Regions from separate parts of the Homo sapiens genome. Here region 2 is linked to region 1. The links are contacts of gene promoters, found by promoter capture Hi-C in blood cells and fetal thymus (Javierre and others, 2016). All regions are on one chromosome and are shown on one strand. The core of a region is centred on a gene start or on the middle of the fragment in contact, and the rest is flanking DNA. Distances in the headings are between cores, read along the strand shown.

Evidence for each region. Contacts are between HindIII fragments. The CHiCAGO score rates a contact against its expected background, and 5 or more counts as called.
Region 2: a contact is called between a fragment that was not itself captured here and the fragment with the promoter of FOXM1 in region 1, in 1 of 17 cell types (neutrophils). The highest score is 5.1, in neutrophils.

Annotation. Positions count from the first base shown.
Region 1 is chr12:2,874,654-2,879,544 of GRCh38, reverse strand. FOXM1 (forkhead box M1) reads left to right here and starts at 2,371. Exons shown (of 9, transcript NM_021953.4): 1 at 2,371-2,625. It overlaps RHNO1 (RAD9-HUS1-RAD1 interacting nuclear orphan 1), which reads right to left and starts at 2,322. Exons shown (of 3, transcript NM_001252499.3): 1 at 2,263-2,322. RefSeq lists an enhancer at 1-482 and silencers at 2,066-2,505, 2,546-2,615. The HindIII fragment of the contact is 3,757 bases long and covers 1,004-4,760 here.
Region 2 is chr12:4,542,341-4,547,231 of GRCh38, reverse strand. RAD51AP1 (RAD51 associated protein 1) reads right to left here. Exons shown (of 9, transcript NM_006479.5): 3 at 3,328-3,469; 4 at 814-923. Among named protein-coding and RNA genes, the nearest start is that of RAD51AP1, 5.9 kb to the right of the region's middle. The HindIII fragment of the contact is 4,691 bases long and covers 600-4,891 here.

The sequences.
Region 1 (4,891 bases), core at 1,122-3,621:
CTGGGCAACACAGTGAAACCCAAATTCTACAAAAAATACAAAAAATCAGGTGGGCACGGCTGCGTGCACCTGTAGTCCCAGCTACTCAGGAGGCTGAGGTGGGCAGATCACTTGAGCCCAGGAGGTGGAGGCTGCAGTGAGCCGAGATCGTGCCACTGAACTCCAGCCTGAGTGACAGAGCCAGAACCTTGTTTCAAAAAAAGAAAAGAAAAAAAAATTCAACAAGTTTAAAACTGAACTTGGCCGCGCACAGTGGCTCATGCCTGTAATGCCAACACTGTGAAAGGTGAAGGTGGGAGGATCACTTGAACCGAATAGTTCAAGATCAATCTGGGCAACAGAGTGAGACCCTGTCTCTACAAAAGATACAAAAATTAGATGGGTGTAGTGGCATGTGCCTGTAGGGGGTCCCAGCCATTCAGGAGGCTGAGGTGGGAGGATCACCTGAGCCCAGGAGGTTGAGGTTGTAGTGAGCCAAGGTCATGCCACTGGACTTCAGCCTGGGGGACAGAGCAAGACCCTGTCTCTAAAAAATAAAAAGATAAATAAAAATAAATATATAATTAAAAAAAAAACTCATTCTGAGCATTGCTTTGTAGTAAAAAAACAAAAACTGAATTCACGATCATTCCCCTGACAACCCCCCGCCCGTCCCTTGGCCAAAGTGATTATCTTCCAGGGCCCTTGGTCAGGGAATAGTGTCATTATTCCTTCAGTTATGCAGCTGAAAATCTTGACACTTCTACCTCCCATCCAACCCACCATCAAGCCCTGTCAACTTTACCTCTTAAACATGTTTTCTTAATGCCCCTTTTTTACTCTCTCTGTCTCCTTCTTTCTCTTCCTCTCTCTCTCTCCCTGCCACCCTTTTTCAAGCTCCAGCAGTTCTTGCCTGGAGTATTGCAACATCCAACTGTTCTGCCCTAATCCACTCTAGCAATCCCCGCTATAGAGGGACCTTTTAAAATGCAAATCTGACCTGGATTCACTTCTGCTTAAAGCTTATGACTGGTTTCCTTTAATTCTTGGATAAGCACAAAACTTCTCGGTATGGCTAAGGCTCTGCTTCCTCCGGCTCCAGCTTCAACTCACACCACACTCCATTCAGGTCGATTAGCTCAAACCCCTCAGATATTTCTCAGCCTTTGTACTCACTGTGCTTCCTCCTGCCATCCAGCCTTTGCACGCCTGATTCCCTCTGCTTAGAGGAGTTCCCTCCTTTCTTTGTAAAAGGCATCAGATCTCACACCAAGCTCTCATTACAAAAGCCTTTCCTGTCCTACCTCTCAAGATCTCGTTATTGTAAATACTCAAAGTATCATTAACCTCTAATGTTTCAATTTACAGCAATAATTCAACATTTGTTTGTTTTGGAGACGGTGTCTCCCTCTGTCGCCCAGGCTGGAGTGCAGTGGTGTGATCATGGCTTACCATAGCCTCCACCTCTCGGCCTCAGGTGATCCTTCCACCTCAGCCTCCAGAGTAGCTGGGACTACAGGCACGCACCACCACGCCCGGCTAATTTTTAGTAGAGAAGCGGTTTCGCTATGTTGCCAGGCTGGTCTCGAACTCGTGACCTCAAGTGATCCACCCGCCTCGGCCTCCTAAAGTGCTGGGATTACAGGCGTGAGCCACTATGCCCAGCCCACATTTGTTTATTTGATTAAAATGTCTGTGCCCCTCTTCCAGGATTGGGCTGTGAGCCCAGGGGAAGGAAAGAACCTTGTCTGCCATTGTATCTTCAGGGCCTAGCGGTGCCTGGCGCACAGCAGTTGCTCAACTAGACTGGTTGACTAAGTCAATAAATAAAGCACTACGGTCTATTATATCCGAAGGCTTGGCTTCGGGAGGGGCAAAAGACAGGTTTCGCGCTGAGGTAGGGTTCATGGTGCCGACATTTTTTTTCAAGATGGAAGAAAGCGGAGATAATACGCAGCCCTCAAAGGAACTTAGTCTAATCGGGGGGAGCAGACGATCGTTCACTGTGGGAAAATGGGGTACGATTTCCCCCAGTGAGGAAATCAACTAAAGCCGAGCTTTGAAAAGGGGAGCAGAGGAGCCTGAGGGGAAGCGGGGGCGTGTCGCCTGGCGTGACCAGCGCGGCAGGAAAAGCGGGCCCAGGGACCCGGGCCTGTCACGCCGCTTCCGCGCGTCCCCAAACTCTCCCTCGGCTCGCCCACCCACGCGGCGGGGACCCCTCCGGCCCCTCCCCGGCCCCACGGCCACTTCTTCCCCCACAAGCCGGCCTGCGGTCCGCCTTACCAGCCCGGGCCGGACGGGGCCGCAGCTCCTGGCAGACCGCACAGCCTTCGAGCCCGGAATGCCGAGACAAGGCCGGCGCCGATTGGCGACGTTCCGTCACGTGACCTTAACGCTCCGCCGGCGCCAATTTCAAACAGCGGAACAAACTGAAAGCTCCGGTGCCAGACCCCACCCCCGGCCCCGGCCCGGGACCCCCTCCCCTCCCGGGATCCCCCGGGGTTCCCACCCCGCCCGCACCGCCGGGGACCCGGCCGGTCCGGCGCGAGCCCCCGTCCGGGGCCCTGGCTCGGCCCCCAGGTTGGAGGAGCCCGGAGCCCGCCTTCGGAGCTACGGCCTAACGGCGGCGGCGACTGCAGTCTGGAGGTGAGCGGGATGCAGCAATGGAGTCCCAGGCCTGGCCTGGGCACAGGCGGGGAGCAAGGCCTCCGGGCGCGGAGGTCAGGGCGTCTAGCAGCAGGGCACGGGCCACGAGTGGAGATTTGGGTCACACGGGAAGAATCTGAGCCAGGGTGCAAGTTTTTTCTGCGTCCACCTCCTGGCCGTGGCCTTCTCACTGCTTAAAGCGCCCCTTGGCCTTCCCTGGAAGTCTGACCTCCGCACCCTGCCCGCGGCCTCGGGAGGGCTGGGGTGGCCTACCTTCTTAGGCCGACTGTGGCTGAGATGAAGACTGAGATTGTACTACATTGAGTCAAAGACCAACCTGCATACACACTCCCCTGCTCCCAGGCTGTCTCACCACTAGGCAACACCGCCTCCATCTTACTTACCCTTTTGCAGGGCCCTTTTCCTGGTTCTTGAGAATGTAGCAAGATTTCCCCGCTCAGGATGGGGATGGGTCGGAGGAGCCACTCTGGAAGTTTCCCGGGCAAGAAAGTGTTGGCAATAATAATAACGGGCTGGTCAGGAAGTAGAAGAGAAAATTAAGACTTAGATATCCTGTGGAAAAAGAGGAATAATATCTACTGATTGATGCGGGGAGAGAGGGAAGCCTGGAAAGATCGGAGGTGAAAGTAAAACTGAGATTTGAAGGTAGAGGTGTGGAGGGCCTGTGAACTCTATGCAGATGACAAATGTCAAAAAAGTGCAGTTGCTTTTCAGGGAGAGAATAAGTGTCCTAAAAAAGAGACAGCCAATTCCTCTGTCTTCCAAAGTTCCGTGAAATAGAATTACACAATTTTGCTTAATGGTAGAATATTCCATGTATCTATTAAAATCAACAAAAGGCCGGGCGCAGTGGCTCACGCCTGTAATCCCAGCACTTTGGGAGGCCGAGGCGGGTGGATCACCTGAGGAGTTCAAGACCAGCCTGGCAAACATGGTGAAACCCTGTTTCTACTAAAAAAAAAAAAAAAAAATTAGCTGGGCATGGTGGTGCATGCCTGTAATTGCAGCTACTCGGGAGGCTGAGGCAGGAGAATCGCTTGAACCCGGGAGGCCGAGGTTGCAGTGAGCTGAGATTGCGCCATTGCACTCCAGCCTGGGTGACAAGAGCGAAGCTCCGTCTCAAAAAAAAAAAAAAAATTAAAAAAAATCAACAAAAGACTTAAAAAAAAAAGACTACACTGTTAGCATTTCAGAACCACCTTAGTGTAATGATGATAGCTCATTGTGGTACTAAGAAGACAGGGGTTATAGTCTTATTTCTGGAAAAGAAATTAATAAAGTGGCATGCTTAGTTAAAATATATATAACCACATGCAAGTACTAAAATGCCACTGTATAAATACAATACAAATTGTAAAAGAAAACATGCTTTTTAAATTAGAGCAAGTATAATAGCCTGTGAAATAAATGTCACCCTCTAGAGTTGTTCAGTGCACAAGCTGCACAACTTTACATGGGCCTTCAGTAGAGGTTTCCATTTTATGTGAGGTTTTGTAAACTGGGAGATGATTTTTCCAGTAGTGTGGCAATAGTACAATCTGCCTTTCTTCCCTGATTCTGTGTGCACTGGTCCTATTTACAAAGTAATATAAAAATCAAAAGGCTTGGCCAGACGCGGTGGCTCACGCCTGTAATCCCAGCACTTTGGGAGGCCGAGGCGGGCAGATGACCTGAGGTCAGGAGTTTGAGACCAGCCTGAGCAACATGGTGAAACCCTGTCTCTACTAAAAATACAAAAACTAGCCGGGCGTGGTGGTGGGCACCTGTAATCCCAGCTACTCAGGAGGCTGAGACGTGGGACTCGCTTAAACCCAGGAGGCAGAGGTTGCAGTGAACTGAGATCGTGCCACTGCACTCCAGCCTGGGTGACAAAGTGAGACTCTGTCTCAAAAAAAAAAAAAAAAAAAAAATTAAAATCCTTTGTCTTGAATGGATTATGGGATCAGAGTTTCATCAGGACTCCTAATTACCATATGCTTTCCTATTCTAGCATCTTCCATTTCTGTCCATACAGTCATTGCAAGTGATCTATTTATATTATAGTAGGCAATTATAGAGATTTCCACATATTTGTAGCTATCCCATCCATTTCTGTAGCCAAATATTCTGAAGCTTCAAGGAGATCTTTGTCTTATCTCCAACCCAGTCCCATTTTTGCCCTTTGAATTGCTTCTGTCTGCTGTAATTTTAGCCTTCTTTTGTCAGTAAAGCTTATCTCCTTATTATCTGAGGTCTTTACAAAAGT
Region 2 (4,891 bases), core at 1,696-4,195, 1.7 Mb before region 1:
GCCAGGCATGGCGGCACATGCCTGTAGTCCCGGCTACTCAGGAGGCTGAGGCAGGAGGACTGCTTGAGCCTAGGAGGTCAAGGTTGTATTGAGCCATGATCATGCCACTGTATTCCTGCCTGGATGACAGAGAGAGACCCTGTCTCAAATAAATAAATAAATAAGGAGGCAGTACTGATTTAAGAAACAAAGAAAAAAGCTCCATGTATACCCCTAAATAAGATAATAAGCTAAAATATCCCCCAACATAAAAACTTTAAGCCAAAAAGCATTTTAGCAGTAGAGTATCTTTTTCAGGAATAATGATTTCTGCCTCTCTAGAATATTAATATATTGCCAGAAAAATCAAAGGAGAAAATCAACAGAGAAATCCAAAAGCCATTCTCTTAAGTCTACTGAACTTGCTAACCAAATTAATACCTTTGACCTTTGTAAGTAATAAAAATTACCATAATTAGGGTATGTTTAACTGATCTGGAAAAAATGGAGATGGATTGTTAGGACTGTACAGATCAAATCATTTGATGAAGAAATTAAATGTTCACTGTACAACAACATATAATTCGAACACTGAGGCTCACAGTCCGTGCCCTCAAGCTTATTCTGGGTGTTAAGCAGAGATGTATGTCTGTTTGTATGAGATTTAGGCAGCTGAATTAAGAACTAAATCCAATCGTATTCTCTGCAAATGGGTCTATTTATAGTGCAAAGTATTCACATTTTACCTGTTTCCTCTGTGAAGGCCCACCCAAACAAATAATCACAAAAGCATTAAGAAGGTTTTAAAGCTAAATATACAGAAAATAAAGTTACTTTTATCTTGAGAGTTCTGCACATTAGTGGTGACTGTTGGAAGTTCCTTCACTGATAAAGCTAGTGCAACTTCTAAGTCTCTCTGGTAGAGCTTGTCATCTAAAGCCATCCTAAAATAGATACACAAGTAATAATGAGTTCTTCAAAATATCAATCTCAACTAAAGAGCAAAGTTTGAGATTTCTCCAAATTACTATTCAAGAGTTGCTAACTTCGCAAAAATGTTTTTAAACAATCATCATTAATAGACCTTTGATGATAAGATAAGACTCCTAAAATGTCACAGTATCATGTTACATACAGAATAAGAGGTTTGAAATAGGAGGACCATGTGCCTCTTTGCAATGACTGTTCCCTTTCATTGTAATGTGTCACCTTACTACCAGCTGTGTCCAGGTGGGAAACACCCTACTCAACCCAAAACAGACTTGGTTCAAACATCACTTCCACTTAAAACTCTTCCTTGACCTCACCCACTCCCCTTTAGCAGATTTTATAGCTCTTACATTAAATTAAAATTATTATCATTTTTTTACATCTCTTCCTCCCAATCCAGACTTTAACAAATATTTTACCAAGCACTTACTTTGTACAAGGCACTGCACTAGCTGGAATACTAAAAGTACCTTCAGGGAGTCTGCAATTAAAGGAGGAGGGTGGGGAAACAAGACATGCTAATAATTATCCTATAAAAGGCAGACTATAAAGTCCTATTCAAGCTGCTCAAAAGTGCTATGGAGTATAAGAGGAAGAAAACGTCAAAGACAGATAAGGAAAAGTTACATAAAGGAAGAAGCACTGAGATGTACCTTAAAGAATTTATTTTTTTAGAATAACAGTTTTCTTAAGATATAATTCACATATCATAAAGTTTACCTTTTAAAGTAAACAATTCAGCAGTTTTTAGTACATTCACAGAGCTGTAAAACCACCAACACTACCTAATTTCAGAACATCTTTATTACCCCAAAAAGAAACCCCATACCCATTAGCATTCACTTCCTGTTTACCCCTCTCCCCTCCTAGCAACCATTAATCTGCTTTCCGTTTCTATGGATTTGCCTATTCTGGACATTTCATGCAAATGAAATCATGTAATATGTGACCTGTATATCTGGCTTCTTTCACTCAGAATGATGTTTCCAAGGTTCATCCATATTGCAGTATATATCAGTTATCAGTTGTCATTTCTTTCTATGGCTGAAAAATATTCCATTTTGTGGAAACCACATTTTACTTATCCATTCATTAGCAGATAGACATTTAGATTGCCTCCATTTTTTTTTAGCTATTATGAATAATGTTGCTGTGAACATTCATGTATGGGTTTTTGTGTGGGCATATGTTTTCATTTCTCTTGGATACATACATAGGCTGGGTCATGTAATAACTCTGTTTAACATTTTGAGGAACTGCTAAACCATTTTCCAATTTAGCTGCACCATTTTACTTTCCCACCAGCAATATATGAGGGTTCAAATTTCTCCACATTCCTTGTCTTTTGTATTAAGTCATCTAGTGGGTGTGAAGTATTATCTCATTCTGATTTTGATTTGCATTGCCCTCACAGCTAATGATATTGAGCATCTTTTCATGTGTTTATTGGTTATTTGTTTATCTTCTCTGGAGAAAGTCTATTGAAATCTTTTGCACATTTTAAATTGTGTTGTTAGTCTTTTTACTGTTGAGTTTTACGAGTTCTGTGTATACTCTGGATACAGTCCCTTATCAGTTATCTGATTTACAAATATTTTCTCCCACGTGTGGGTTCCTTTTTCTATATATTTAAAATGTAATACAAGAAACTCACAAACAAAAACCAAAAAAAAGAAAAGCAAAAAAGAGCATGACATGAGGTAAGTTTCTCCAGGCTAACTCACTTTTCATAGAGAAACTTGTGGCAGTAAAACATTATATATGCCATGTTCCATTTGTTAATATTCCCCTTCCGCCCATCTCTTCTCCATACTGCAAGTTTTGGGTCTCTAAGGACTTCCTTCACTCCTTTCTGCCTCTTGATACTATCTAATGGAATTCCACGGTTAGTCTAGAAACTATGGGAACTTCTCACTGCTGGATAAATCTTAACAACATGGGGAGAAGACATCTTTTTCTGCAAGAAAATACATGGTTTTATATTTTAAAAACTGTCCTCATATTAAGTCATCTTGTGTCTTAATCATCTTAAGTCATCTAATGTCATTTTTAACAAAGTAGTCTCGTATGATTTGAGGAATTCAGAGATAAGTGCTGGGTCCTGTCAAAACCAGTCATAACTTCTGAATTCTACAATCATTATTGTCTTAATATTTAATGATACTTCCTTGAATGTTTGTGAATTTCTTTAAGTCAGAAAGCCAGAAAAAAATAGTACGTCCTGTTTTCTGACTGCACCTAGTAAAATAAGACCTATGACTCTGCCCAAGTTCTAATTTAAATCAAGGGTTCGAATCTGTGTCTCTTTAAAATTAACACATCTAATGTCATATATTTACTGCATGTCTTACCTCTCACCTTTTTTTAGGGGTTTTCTCTTGTACTGGGATTTCTTCTTTCCGGAGATTGTTCAAGTTAGGTTTTGGTTTATCTTGTTTTAACTCCTTTGGTGCTGTTCTGGATTTCTTGTTTAAAGGTACAGTTGCAGAAACAAAATCATCTATTCATGTGTGAATTAAAACCAAAAGAAAAATATTATTTTCTTCATAAATGAAAATCATTACCATGTGTGTTCAAGTTTTTATAGGCTAGGCAAATTGTTTAATTTCCACAATTTAAAAATCATTGTTAGTATTTTGTTTATCTTTACTCTCATTTATCTATTTCGACTTTTGTTTTTGTGCCCTTTATATTTAAAAATATCAGTCTATCAAAAACCAATTCACTAAAAACTGCAAAAGCAATTAAGACAGCATATAAGTGTCAAAGAAAAAATGATTAAAAACCTGTAAAACCATTAGAAAAATTGGTAGAATTTAATCACATTGAAAAGTGGAAATAAATTATTTTTATGGGAACTTCACAATGTAGCCAAATATCTTTTTTCAAAGCCCATTACTTGGGCCAGGCACAGTGGCTCACACTTGTAATCCCAGCACTTTGGGAGGCCAAGGCGGGCAGATCACCTGAAGTCACGAGTTCAAGACCAGCCTGGCCAAAGTGGTGAAACCCTGTCTCTACTAAAAAATACAAAAATTAGCCAGGCATGGTGGCGGACACCTATAATCCCAGCTACTCAGGAGGTGAGGTGGGAGAATCGCTTGAACCTGGGAGGCAGAGGTTGCAGTGAGCCAAGATCGCGCTGTTGCACTCTAGCCTAGGTGCAAGAGTGAGACTCCGTCTCAAAAAAAAGAGAAAAAAAAGCCCATTACCTATTCCTAGTACATTAACCATGCTAGAGGAAATAAGCATTATGGGGGGAAGAGAAAGTAGCTCCTATTTGAGGATTTTTACAATAGTAGTATTTTCTCTTTCCATTACCATAATGATCTTCCTAAGATCCTACCAAAGTAACTTCTTATTTTCTTGCAAAAGGATGTTCTTTTCCAGTCCATTACTGTTTCTCACAGGTTTTTCTGTCTTACCAATCCTCTGAACTGTTGTAGTTCTACTCTTGACTGTCAACGTAAAACTACTGCTGTGGCTTTTCCACATGTATACAACACATATATGCATACTTTCAGGGTCTATGCAGTCTTCATCACATACTCAGCAAGCACTAATACTTGTTGTCTCTTATATGCTTCCCCATGTAAAAATAAGATAACTTAGGACTCCCCCCACCTACTACTACACACCTGGCAATTTATAAGTATCTGATGACAGACTGATGACAAAAAAAAAAAAAAAGCTAGATGTTATACTCTACACTCTTTTTCCCAAGTGGTAGATACAGTTAAGGCTGTGCTCAAGGCAAAAACAGATTCCTTCAAACCGAAGACTTACTAAATATTTGACTTACAGAAAACTCTAGTGGTCTAAGAAAGAAATATTAAATCCACTTCAACATATAACATAATCTAATGCAATGTTCCTCAAACTTTTCAATCATAGCAGAGTCAAGTAAACATATGACTAATGC